Linked DNA regions of Homo sapiens: region 2 is linked to region 1. The links are contacts of gene promoters, found by promoter capture Hi-C in blood cells and fetal thymus (Javierre and others, 2016). All regions are on one chromosome and are shown on one strand. The core of a region is centred on a gene start or on the middle of the fragment in contact, and the rest is flanking DNA. Distances in the headings are between cores, read along the strand shown.

Region 1 (7,183 bases), core at 3,125-5,624:
AAGTGATGAGTTCATGTCCTTTGTAGGGACATGGATGAAATTGGAAATCATCATTCTCAGTAAACTATCGCAAGGACAAAAAACCAAACACCGCATGTTCTCACTCATAGGTGGGAATTGAACAAGGAGAACACATGGACACAGGAAGGGGAACATCACACTCTGGGGACTGTTGTGGGCTGGGGGGAGGGGGGAGGGATAGCATTAGGAGATATACCTAATGCTAAATGACAAGTTAATGGGTGCAGCACACCAGCATGGCACATGTATACATATGTAACTAACCTGCACATTGTGCACATGTACCCTAAAACTTAAAATATAATAATAATAAAATAAAAGAAAAAAAAAAAGAAGTGAACTTAAAATACCCAGCAACAATAGCCTATGAGCTAGAAGGTGGTTAAACGTAAAAGTTCCAAAATCCTTGTTTTTTGAGTAGGAATATAAAGGTAAATGTTGATACATTGGATTTGTTGAAACATCGATTGTTATTTTTCATCATTTCCGAAAGATTTTTGCCATTGTCACTTCAAATGTTGTCTCTGACCCTTTCCTCTCTCTTCTGCTTGTGACAATCCAATTAGACATCTATTAGAGCTTACACCTGTATCCTCTACGCCTTTCGACTTCTTTCTCCAAATTTCTACCTCTTTATCTCTCTTATAAGAATTCCAGAAGTTCTTTGGTTCTATTTTCTAGTTTTCTAATTTTATTTTCAACTGTGTCTAATTTGTTATAAAATTTATCCACTGAAATTTGTTAATTAAATAATTATGTTTTTACTTCTCAGAGTATTGTTTGATTTGTTTGCAAATATGCTTAGGCTTTAACCATATTTTAAACTTCTTTGCCTCACATTTATCAGTTTTACTCCTCAGTTACTGATAAGCAACTTATAATATGTACTCTCTTTCCTCTTTAAATGTCCAGCTATGCTAAAGCGCACAGACATACAAACCGGTTAATCGAAATCTGAAGACAGACTTATTAGCAAGATAGTATACAGTGGGGAGTTGAAAACATTTCCAACATTCTGTGGAGGACACTACTGTTTGTAACCTATTTCTGGAAAGGAGTTCTGTTTTCTAAAAATAAAAGTTTGTAATTTTCCATAAACAAAATGCTAAGGGGAAGCATTTATGTTTTCTAAATCAAAGTATAATTTTAAATATAAACAAAGAGAATCCCAATAAGCTAAAACTAAAAAAAAGACAAACACTTGATTACTTTGACAACAAATTATATTTTAAATGTTTCATATTTACTTTTATATTTCCATACAATCAGAAACAGTAAAAAAAATTTGGAGAGCACATAAAAACATCTTAAAGTTAAAAATATAAAGCCTTGTATTTAAAAATGCAGTCATTTAAATAATATTATAAGAATCTATTTGTACATAATAAACAAGTTTCAACCAGCAAGAAATTACTAATATTGACTGTGGAGTTTTGGCTGTTTTAATAGTTCTAACTCATTATTCCGTAATTCAACACAGCACTACCAACACAGCTGGCAATGACAAGACTGGGAGTATCAAACTAGGATTGTTAGTTCAATTAAAATTTCAGATAAACAATAATGTACTTATACTAAAAAATTATTTGTTGTTTATCTGAAATGAAAATTTAACTGGGTACCCAATTGTTTGTTTGTTTAATCTAAAAACCCTGATTGAAATTTATCTAATAAAACATCATTTAATATCTAAAATAAAATAAATTTACTATAACATCTTTATAACTATTCAATCAATGATTCATCTTCTATTTTTCCAAATTCTTGCACAAATATTTGATGCTTAAATAAATACATAAATAATAAATAGGTTAATAAGTTACACTTGAAAATAATTTATGTTATGATGAAAAAACTTAAAGTGCTTCCACATGTCCTCACAACATCACTGTGAGGTAAGATGGTGGCTAATACTTTTTCCACTTAGAAATAAAGGAGAAACCAAGGCACAGTGGAACAAGGACTTGTGGATCCTGGCTAGCAGACTAGGGTTGCCAGATTTAACAGAAAAAAATCCAGGATTTCCAGCTAAATTTGACTTTATGGCAAAATTTATTGTCCCATCATTTTTATGTGATGCTTCAAATATCACATTCTAGCAAACCCATTCAATTCCTGAAATTAAAGTTCGGATATTCTCTTGGCCCTTGGCCTCAATTTTGCTATTTGTATATTCTCCCGTGCAATATCTAGGAAAATCCTTATATTTAAAAATTATTTGTTGTTTTTTGTAGATTCAAATAAATAATACTTTACATATAAGTATGTTCTGGATATTTCATGGTACAATGAAAAACTATTCATTGTTTACTGAAATTCAAATTTAACCAGGAATCTTGTATTGCATCTGGCAACCCTACAACAGACCCACACAATACATGAAGTGTTGAAGTAGATTTGCTTGAAGTTTCACTGGCATCTTCACTGATTCTTGGATACCACAGAGAATGAATTTTTTTATGAATTCTCAGCCCTAAAATAAAATTAAAAATATAAAGATGAGCTATGTTTAATAAGAAGGAAAGTAGGGTTCTTGAAAAGTCAATATAGTCTTTGACATTCATGTGTTAGAAATGCTCTATATTCTCAACTATAAATAGGGAGATCAAAGAAATTATCATCTAAAATAGGACACTACTGGGAGTGACAAAGAACTTTACTAAGAGTATAGGACACAAGCTTAAACCCAGAATTTCCTGGGCAAACTATGTATGGTCTTTCTGGTCATGAGTACAACAAACTCACTATTGATGCTATTCCTTTTTTTTTTAACCAAAAAGGCAGATACCTAATGACGATTTTTAGCAACAGAAAGAAATTTATAGGCTGACTTTGGATTATATGTCTCAGGATAAATGAAAAATTTAAATTAAAAAATATATAACTTACCTCTTCAAAAACTTCTCCACAACCCTCTGCACCCAGTTTTCCTTGGGGTCCAGACAGAGCTCTCTTCCATCAGAAAGCTTTACACTGAAATAAGAAAGAAATGGTTCAGATTAATATTTAGTTTTTGCATTCAAATCATGATTCCTTAAGTCAGGCATAAAGTCTAAGTCCAAAATAACATTTATAGTAGTTGTGGAAGCTACCATATTTAAATGTCATGTAGACAAATATTTTTATTTTGTTTTGTTTCATTTACTACTGTAATCCTAACACCTGGAACTTTCCTAAATATTTCCACCTTCCTTAATTTTAAGTTTGCTAAAACAAAATATCTAATCTTTTTTAAAGTACTTACATAATTTCTGTGTTGGCGCAGTGTGGTCCACTCTCAATCACTCTCAGTTCTTTGATAAATTTGGGGTGGAAAGGTTTGGAGTATGTCTTTATGCACTGACATCTAAGTTCTTTAGCACTCCTTGGCAAAACTGCACCTGTTGGGGGAAAAAGTGATTAAGGATTGATTTTATCAACAGGCACAGCTCTGCCAGCTACTTCCTTTCTAATTCCAATATGATTATTTGGAGACTATGGAAGGCATCATGTTTCTAGTGAACTCATTCCTGAATATTCTCCTAGCCCTTGACCTCAGTTAGTTCTTTGTTTTAAAAAACAGTCATAACTGACAACATTGAACGACTTCCTATATAAAGAGTTAGAGTTCTTTTTGTACAATATCAACATCTTCATGGTATTTTTATCTGGTCAATATTGCATAATCCTCTGTGATACCACAGTGTTATTTATAGTAGGCAAGCTAAGACTCTCCAGCATAGAAATTGCCTTCAGAAAGAATTAACAGAAATATATAAATAAGTTATACATGCCTGGTCTATAATCAGGGTATCTTTAAACCAGACAGGAATTAATGACAAATCTGAGGCTTGTCAATGAAATACTACAAGGAGTGGAATTGTCTGAGTTACCTTGCTCAACTCAATATTAATACATAATATAGGTAACCGTGGTTCTCAATAGGACATACTATAAATTACTTATTTACGTTAAATATATGCATGCTACATGGTATAAATTATAAAAGCAGAATATCTATATTGATCAAACTTTATACTTTCCTAAGTGTTATATATAGTTTTTTCTAAATCTTCAATTTAACATTAATTGACTGCTAAGATTATATTCTGTTTCTGAATAAAAAGGATGTTTGTTACCAAAGCATCAAGAATAGCTTTGCTATCTAAGGATCACATTTAGACATAGGAAAACGCTGTAGGTCAGAAAGATGTGCTTACCTTCACACAGAGCTGCAGAAATCAGGAAGGCTGCCAAGAGAGCCACGGCCAGCTTGGAAGTCATGTTTACACACAGTGAGATGGTTCCTTCCGGTGGTTTCTTCCTGGCTCTTGTCCTAGAAGCTTGTGTGCTCTGCTGTCTCTGAAAGTTTGTGCCTTATGGAGTGCTCCGGTGGCTTTTTATATCATCACCCTACTAGAGAACTTATGCACCCTCATCTTTTCATTATGTCAGAGGAAATTCCACGATTTGCAACTGATGGCCCATCCCCTCAGGGCAAACCTGAGTCATCACACTTCCTATTTGTTCCTTATCAAATACGGAGTATGACGAAAGTTTTCTTTGATCTTTAAAATAATTTAATTTTAATATACATTTAAAATACTGAAGCTCCACAATTTGGTGAATTATCAATTGTATGCTTTTTTATTTCTAGATAACTTTATCATAGTACCATGTGACAGATATAGTACTAGAGTGGCAGGTGTTAGAACAAGATCATGGATGATTTTCTTTTAATGGCATAATTATTTTTTTTCAGTTAATTACAGATGCTATCATGATGGTGAAGATAAGCCAGCCAATCATTTTATTGGGGAGGTAATTTAAAATAAATCTTTTTCTAAGCATTTTAGAGAGTTTCTAGGAACTGTTACTGCTCTTAGGGGGCATACTACAACTTTTCAAAAGATTTAGTTTTCTAATGCATGTTAACAGAGTGAAGGGGCACATGTGCTTCACATAGAAATCAGTTCCACAAACATTTATGGAGTAACTTTCTGAGTAATGTGGGGGATCTAGAAATAGATAAGACTAGGTACTTGTCCTTAAAGAGTTTGGTCTATCAGAAGAAGAAAGCAATGTAAGGACTGACTATATAGCAGAATAGACAAGTGGTACTAAGACATTAATTCCAGTGGAGGCATAAGAGCAGAATCTTCCAAAGGCAGTTGGAGCAAGGCATTGAGGAATAGGAGGGCTTCAATAGAGGAAGATGAAAGAGAACAGCACATTCCAGATAGGAACAGTATTCAAGGCCACTCAAGTTGTAAAGTTAAGGTATGTTTATGCTCCAGAAAGTGGTGCACTGGAGCTGCTTGGTTGGGGTGGGAGGGAGGTGTTATCTAATGGAAAGTTGTATGCTTAGTGGAAAGAGCATCTGGGTTCCAACTCTGGTTCAGCCACTGTTGCTTCATGCTCTTTATCCAAGGACACCAAGTCTGACCTCTGAGGACCCATGATCACTAGCAAAAGGGATGGAGTGAGAAATTTCAACAAATCATAAAAAGGTGGCTTTATGTCCTAGTGTCCTGAAGAAAAGAATCCAAGACCTTTCTTGAAAGGTCTTGGATTCTGTAGATAAAGAGCACCAAGGAAGGGTTCTTATGATAGTAAAAGTCTGTTCGCTTCTGGGCAAGTACATAATTTATAAATAATTCACCTTGGTGTAACAGTTCTTCATTTTCAGAAAGTACGACAGAGCAGTGAATTTGCCCACACTGTGAACACACTGTGGAGGGGGAATGCCATTTTCAAATGCTTTCCAAAAAGGTTTGTCTGTTTCTGCACAATCATGTTTCTTTTTGTTATCTTTCTCCAACCAACCTAAGACTTGAGGATAAAATAATGCCTGGGTTACACTGAATTCTATAGCAAAGTAAATGTTTATTCTATATAATGTAGCTCCTATAGTTTTCAACTGTAGTATTTCAGAAACTTCATTATTCATTTAATATGTGTTGTTTATCTGCTAATGTCCCTTATTGTAGGAGATGTGAATGCTATGTAAATAGATATAGTACCTGACTTAAAGGACTTTGTTGTCTAGTGCAGAATATGGAAAATTAGTTACACAAGTAAGTAAAATACAGTGATGAGTGTTACAATAACAGGTAATTACAGGAAGTTCTGGAATCAAACAAACATGATCTTTGAGGCAGTTTTGATGAATGAAGGTTTTCTGAAGAAACAACATCAAAAGTGTTACCTTTATTGTTAATGAGGAGAAGAAAGACCAATGGGACTGCTTTGCTAGTACAGGACAGGAAGTACAGGACAATGAAATGTAGGCGAACATGGCCCATTTGGGTTTCTCAAACTATTTAGCATACGGAACACAGTGCATGGAGTGACAAGAAGAGAAAGCTTGGGCCGGATAGGTAAAAAAGACCTATATCTTAAAGAAAACTCCAAGTTTCTTTGCTTCAGTGATGTTGGCATGTTTAGCAAAGACACATTCTCATATGGACACAACCTGGCTTGACTGATTCAGTTCACTATCATTAAGACTCACTCATACAGCATCACTAAGACATTCAGAGTTCTGAGGATGTGCAAAGACTTCTTTGCTTTTCCCTAACGGTTGCCTTTGTATTTATGGTGAGCCCAACTTACATAGACACCTCGTTTTCCTCCTTATTTTCATGTCACTATATCTCCCTCTCATTCTCTTCTCATGGGCCCAACTTTATCCTGATATCATCCTTAAAGTTTGAGCTAATGAGGTCTACTTAACCTTGATGCTCACATTTTTTTTTAAGAATGAAGCCTTTCCAAGGCAAAAAGACCTCTTTTGCAAATGTTGTTCATCTCTCACAATGTAACCTTCAGTGCATTATGTCCTAGAACCCTCTCCATCAGAAGTGGGAATGGACAAAGATGAAGTGACTACAAGAGCATTGATTCTATCTTGTCTCACTTCTGTAAAGATAACCATTTGAGTCCTTGCATAATGAGTAGAAGGACTAAATGGGCTTAGGCGGAAAAAAAAAAGCAGGACTAAGTATCCTTTTTAAGGATATTCTGCTTTAAAATAGAGCAAAGTGGGGTACAAAGTTTAACTAAAGTGCCACGCTACACATAAATACAAATGTTTTGTCATCTTCTAGAGATGAATGCAAAGTGAGTTCATGAGACTTAACTGTTTATTTACGTCCCATTCGGCTCCTGAGCCATAAGAATC
Region 2 (7,149 bases), core at 4,188-6,687, 52 kb before region 1:
AACATGATGTCTCTCAATAGGTGAATAGATAAACCAGCTGGTTTATTCATAAAATGAATTAGTATTCAGCAATAAAAAGAAATGAACAATTGAGGCATAAAATGACATAGATGGATTTTAAATGCATATTGCTAAGTGAAAGAAACCAGTCTGAAAAGGCTACATACTGTATTATTTCAATTATGTGATTAGTGGTTGCTAAGACTTTTGTGGGAGGTTTGAATAGGTGAAACACAAGGAATCTTTCAGGGTAATAAAACTATCCTATATGATATTGTATTGGTATATGCAGGACACTATGCATTTGTAAAAACTAACTCGTGGAATTTTATAGTGTAAAGGCAGAAGAAACAGTACATAAGATTGTTTTCTGGTCGGTAATGTTGATTACCATGGAGGTACAGGATAACAAATCTAAAACCACTATATATAGAATTGAACAATTAAGTAAAAAGGTAGCTGATAGTGGGAGCTAGGTTTCTCACTGTTCAAGTGAGTGGTTACATACAGAATAATTTATAGATATATGTACAAACTTTGGTTAGTATTCACACATATATTTCCTTGCATTGCCAGCTGAATATATCTAAAAGCAACAGTGCCCCAGTAGTAATGAATATATTTACTATCCAGAACTTGTTTTCTAATACCACTCCCCAGTAATAGGAACCAGGGATCCTTGAGAAAATGGTTGATTCTCAAACTATAGCATAAAACATACTACATAAGCCAGAAGTACCTTGTAGTTCCAGGAACCATGAGCCACAGCACTGGGTGGGTGTTCAAGGTTAACGTCAATTGTAATAAATCATATTGACATGATAAAGATGACATAATATCTTTGATGTGATGTAACGAGTATATGACTTCTTATCTCTATGGGTTTCTTCTCCAAACCCAAAAATTCTAGCCTAATTATGAGAAAAATATCAGATAAATCTTTTTTTTAACTTTAGGGAGAAAATTTTGTATTTTTAAAACTTGCATAAAAGTTATGCAAGTTTTGCCAGGAGCGGTGGCTCACGCCTATAATCCCAGCACTTTGGGAGGCAGAGGCGGGCGGATCACGAGGTCAGGAGATCGAGACCATCCTGGCTAACACAGTGAAACCCCGTTTCTACTAAAAATACAAAAAATTAGCTGGGCCTGGTGACGGGCGCCTGTAGTCCCAGCTACTCTGGAGGCTGAGGTAGGAGAATGGCCTGAACCCAGGAGGCGGAGCTTGCAGTGAGCGAAGATCGCGCCACTGCACTCCAGCCTGGGCGACAGAGCAAGACTCCGTCTCAAAAAAAAAAAAAAAAAAAAAAAAAGTTATGCAAGTTTTTTGAATTATACTTTAAGTTCTCAGATACATGTGCAGAACGTGCAGGTTTGTTACACAAGTATATACGTGCCATGGTGGTTTGCTGCACCCATCAACCCGTCATACACATTAGGTATTTTTCCTAATGCTAGCCCTCCCCTAGCTCCCCAACCCCTCGCAGGCCCTCGTGTGTGATGTTCTCCTCCCTGTGTCCATTTGTTCTCGTTGTTCAACTCCCCCTTATGAGTGAGAGCATGCGGTGTTTGGTATTCTGTTCCTGTGTTAGTTTGCTGACAATTATGGTTTCCAGCTTCGTCTATGTCCCTGCAAAGGACATGAACTCATCCTTTATATGGCTAAATAGTATTCCATGGTGTATATGTGCCACATTTTCTCTATCCAGTCTATAATTGATGGGCATTTTTGTTGGTTCCAAGTCTTTGCTATTGTGAATAGTGTTTCAATAAACATATGGGTGCGTGTGTATTTATAGTAGAACGATTTATAATTCTTTGGTTATATACCCAGCAATGGAATTGCTGGGTCAAATGGTATTTCTGGTTCTAGACCTTGAGGAATCACCACACTGTCTTCTGCAATGGTTGAACTAATTTACACTTCCACCAACATTGTAAAAGCAATCCTATTTCTCCACATCCTATCCAGCACTCGTTGTTTCCTGACTTTTTAATAATCACCATTCTAACTGGCATGAGTTGGTATCTCATTGTGGTTTTAATTTGTATTTCTCTAATGACCACTGATAATGAGCTTTTTTTTTCATATGTTTGTTGGCTGCATAAATGTCTTCTTTTGAGACGTGTCTGTTCATATCCTTCACTCACTTTTTGATGGGCTGTTTGTTTTTTTCTTGTAAGTTTGTTTAAGTTTTTGTAGCTTCTAGATATTAGCCCTTTATCAGATAGATAAATTGCAAAATTTTTCTCCCATACTGTAGGTTGCCCATTCACTCTGATGATAGTTTTTTTTGCTGTGCAGAAGCTCTTTAGTTTAATTAGATCCCATTTGTCAATTTTGGCTTTTGTTGCCATTGCTTTTGTTGTTTTAGTCATGAAGTTTTTGCCCACGCCTATGTCCTGAATGGTATTGCCTAGGTTTTCTTCAAGGGTTTTTATAGTTTTAGGTCTTGCATTTAAGTCTTTAATCCATCTTGAATTAATTTTTGTATAAGGTGTAAGGAAGGGGTCCAGTTTCAGTTTTCTGCCTATGGCTAGCCTGTTGTCCCAACACCATTTATTAAATAGGGAATCCTTTCCCCATTTCTTGTTTTTGTCAGGTTTGTCAAAGATCAGATGGTTGTAGATGTGTGGCATTATTTCTGAGGCCTCTGTTCTGTTCTATTGGTCTATATATATGTTTTGGTACCAGTACCATGCTGTTTTGGTTACTGTAGCCTTGTAATATAGTTTGAAGTCAGGTAATGTGACGCCTCCAGCTTTGTTCTTTTTGCTTAGGATTGTCATGGCTATACCGGTGCATTTTTGGTTCCATATGAAATTTAAAGTAGTTTTTTTTTTCTAATTCTGTACAGAAAGTCAATGGCAGCTTGATGGGGATAGCACTGAATCTATAAATTACTTTGGGCAATATGGCCATTTTCATGAGATTGATTCTTCCCATCCATGAGCATGGAATGTTTTTCCATTTTTTTGTCTTCTCTCTTATTTCCTTGAGCAGTGGTTTGTAATTCTTTTTGAAGAGGTCTTTTACAACCCTTGTAAGTTGTATACTTAGATATTTTATTCTCTTTTTAGCAATTGTGAATGGGCCTTCACTCATGATTTTGTTCTCTATTATTGGTGTGTAGGAATGCCTGTGATTTTTGCACATTGATTTTGTATCCTGATACTTTGCTGAAGTTGCTTATCAGATTAAGGAGATTTTGGGCAGAGACGATGGGGTTTTCTAAATGTACAAGCATGTCATCTGCAAACAGAGACAATTTGACTTCCTCTCTTCCTATTTGAATACCATTTATTTCTTTCTCTTGCCTGATTGCCCTGGCCAGAACTTCCAATACTATGTTGAATAGGAATGGTAAGAGAGGGCATCCTTGTCTTGTGTGGTTTTCAAAGGGAATGCTTACAGGTTTTGCCCATTAAGAATTATATTAGCTGTGGGTTTGTCATCTATAGCTCGTATTATTTTGAGATATGTTCCATCAATACCTAGTTTATTGAGAGATTTTAGCATGTAGTGGTGTAGAATTTTATCTAAGGCCTTTTCTGCATCTATTGAGATAATCATGTGGTTTTTGTCATTGGTTCTGTTTATGTGATGGATTATGTTTATTGATTTGAGTATGTTGAACCAGCCTTGCATCCCAGGAATGAAGCTGACTTGATCATGGTGGATAAGTTTTTTAATGTGCTGCTGGATTCACTTTGCCAGGATTTTATTGAGGATTTTTGCATCAATGTTCATCAAGAATGTTGGCCTGAAATTTTCTTTTCTTGTTGTCATTGTGTCGCTGCCAAGTTTTGGTATCGGGATGATCCTGGCCTCATAAGATGAGTTAGGGAGGAGTCCTTCAATTTCTATTGTTTGGATGTTTCAGAAGGAATGGTACCAGCTCCTCTTTGTACTTTTGGAAGAATTCAGCTGTGAATCTTTCTGGTTCTGGGCTTTTTTTGGTTGGTAGGCTATTAATTACTGCCTCAATTTCAGAACTTGTTATTGGTCTATTCAGGGATTTGACTTCTTCCTGGTTTAGTCTTCGGAGGGTGTAATTGTCCAGGAATTTATCCATTTCTTCTAGATTTTCTAGTCTATTTGCATAGAGGTGTTTATAGTAAGCTCTGATGGTAGTTTGTATTTCTGTGGAATCAGTGGTGATATCCCCTTTATCATTTTTTATTGTCTGTTTGATTCTTCTCTATTTTCTTCTTTATTAGTCTGGATAGCAATCTATCTATTTTTTTAATCTTTTCAAAAAACCAGCTCTTGGATTCGTTGATTTTTTGAAGGGTTTTTTGTGTCTCTATCTCCTTCAGTTCTGCTCTGATCTTAGTTATTTCTTGTCTTCTGCTAGCTTTTGAATTTGTTTGCTCTTGCTTCATTAGTTCTTTTGTGATATTAGGGTGTCAATTTTAGATCTTTTCTGCTTTCTCTTGTGGGCATTTAGTGCTATAAATTTCCATCTTAACACTACTTTAGCTGTATCCCAGAGAGTCTGGTACATTGTGTCTTTGTTCTAATTGGTTTCAAATAACTTCTTTATTTCTGCCTTAATTTCGTTATTTACCCAATAGTCACTCAGGAGCAGGTTGTTTAGTTTCCATGTAGTTGAGTGAGTTTCTTAATCCTGAGTTCTAATTTGATTGCACTGTGGTCTGAGAGACTGTTGTTTGTTATGATTTTCATTTTTTTGCATTTGCTGAGGAGTGTTTTGCTTCCAATCATGTGGTCAATTTTAGAATCAGTGCGATGTGGCACTGAGAAGAATGTATATTCTGTTGATTTGGGGTGGAGAGTTCTGTAGATGTCTATTAGGTCTGCTTGGTCCAGAGCTGAGTTCAAGTCCTGAATATCCTTGTTAACTTTCTGTCTTGCTGGTCTGTCTAATACTGACAATGGGGTATTAAAATCTCCCACTATTATGGTGTGGAAGTCTAAGTCTTTTTGTAGATCTCAACATTCTTAAAGAAAATTATTTTCAACCCAGAATTTCATATCCAGCCAAACTAAGCTTCATAAGTGAAGGAGAAATAAAATCCTTTACAGACAAGCAAATGCTGAGAGATTTCATCACCACCAAGCCTGCCTTAGAAGAGCTCCTAAAAGAAGCACTAAATATGGAAAGGGAAAACCGGTACCAGCCACTGCAAAAACATACCAAATTGTAAAGACATTCAACATTATGAAGAAACTGCATCAACTAAGGGGCAAAATAATCAGCTAGCATCATAAGGAGAGGATCAAATTCATACATAACAATATTCACCTTAAATTTAAATGGGTTAAATGCCCCAATTAAGAGACACAGACTGGCAAATTGGTTAAAGAATCAAGACCCATTGGTGTGCTGTGTTCAGGAGACCCATCTCATGTGCAAAGACACACACAGGCTTAAAATAAAGGGATGGAGGAATATTTACCAAGCAAATGGAAAGCAAAAAAAAAAAAAAAAAAAAAAGCAGGGGTTGCAATCCCAGTCTCTGATAAAACAGACTTTAAACCAACAAAGATCAAAAAAGACAAAGAAGGGCATTACATAATGGTAAAGGGATCAATGCAACAAGAAAAGCTAACTATCCTAAATGTATATGCACCCAATACAGGAGCACTCAGATTCATAAAGCAATTTCTCAGATAAATCTTAATTGAGATACATGCTACAAAATGCATGACCAGTACATTGATTTAGGGACTTCAGTTAGTCATAGTTATCAATATTGTCCTATTAATTGTGACAAAATACACCCTGCCAATGTAAAATATTCTTTTAATAGGGGAAAATCAGAGGTAGGTATATGAAAATACCCTGTACCATCTTCACAATTTTCTGTAAACCTAAAACTGTTTTAAAATTAAGCTTATAACATATTTCAAAAGGAAGAGAACTTTAAAAACCTAGTATTCTTAAAGAGATTAAGGAAGATATTTTATAATAAAAAAAGGAATGCTGTGAGGAAGGATCAATTAGGGGACAAAAATAAGTTCTTAGGAATTTTAAATATGGTAAGTGAAGTAGTGAATTTTATACAAAGTTTGAAACATAAAACAAATATCTAAGAAAGTAGAAATAAGTATAACAGATGGATAATATAAGAAAAATGAAAATAAACATGGAAAATGACACCAATTACTAATATGTTATAGAAAAAAGAATAGAGAAAAATAGAAAGCAAGACATTCTCAAAGAAATAATAGAGAATTTTCCTGATTTGAAGGTTGAATTTTCAATCTGAAGCAGTTCTGCAAGTGTTCTGTAAAATCACACACACACACCCCCACACAGCTGAGTACATCATTAGAAAATTTAGAAAGTCTAGTTAAAAGTTTCCTTTTGGAAAAACCAAATCACTATGAAGAATAATCATCAGACTGGGATCATCTTTGTCATCAGCAACACTTAAAAGGCAGAGGAAGCTCTGAAGTAATATAATTTTCAACCTAGAATTCTATATCCAGAAAAACTACCAATCATGTGTTAGGGTAGAAGAAAAAACCACTTTCAGATATGTGAAAGCTCAGAAAATTCTCCTTTACAATCTTCCTTAGGAAGTTCTCTGAAGATATGTGTCAACAAAACAAGTAAATAAGCCTATAATGAGGGAAGACACATGTTCCAGCAAATAAAAAGTTCAACCAGGGAATAAAATAGACAGAGAAAAACCTGAGTTGAGGGGTCCTGGATCACTGGTCTTTGGGAAAATATAATAGTTAAATTAAAAAAAGAAGGATAAAATAGTTTTAATTGGAAAATTAAATCAAAACTCTAAGTAAGCCAAAACCTGTAAAAGAAGAAATATTATGATCATATAATACTTCTGTCTTCAGTAAACAGTATTTTCATAGGTTAGGTAAATGCGGTTAATTATTTACAAATATTTCATATCAACAAGTCCAGATGACTTAATTATGATTATAGAACAGAAGTGGTAGACAAGTATAAGGGGACTGGATTATCAGTCATTATAGAGAAATTCCGCAGGGGTTAATTTCATATGTATAAGTAATTTTTTAAAAACTTGGTTCAAACACAATATTTAGAGACATGGCATTCTCTACCAGAACAAAATAGCTAAAACATTTAAAAATACTTGTTATTGAGGGACTGAGTGTGGAAAGAAGTGATACGCTTTTATTATAAGATCTTCTTT

What was found. Contacts are between HindIII fragments. The CHiCAGO score rates a contact against its expected background, and 5 or more counts as called.
Region 2: a fragment that was not itself captured here is called in contact with the fragment with the promoter of CXCL8 in region 1 in 1 of 17 cell types (neutrophils); the score reaches 7.9 in neutrophils.

What each region holds. Positions count from the first base shown.
Region 1 is chr4:73,737,760-73,744,942 of GRCh38, reverse strand. CXCL8 (C-X-C motif chemokine ligand 8) reads right to left here and starts at 4,374. Exons shown (of 4, transcript NM_000584.4): 1 at 4,221-4,374; 2 at 3,266-3,401; 3 at 2,911-2,994; 4 at 1,227-2,494. The coding sequence starts at 4,284. The coding sequence ends at 2,479. RefSeq lists a silencer at 5,617-5,911. The HindIII fragment of the contact is 2,023 bases long and covers 4,346-6,368 here.
Region 2 is chr4:73,790,972-73,798,120 of GRCh38, reverse strand. No RefSeq gene overlaps it. Among named protein-coding and RNA genes, the nearest start is that of CXCL6, 42 kb to the left of the region's middle. The HindIII fragment of the contact is 846 bases long and covers 5,015-5,860 here.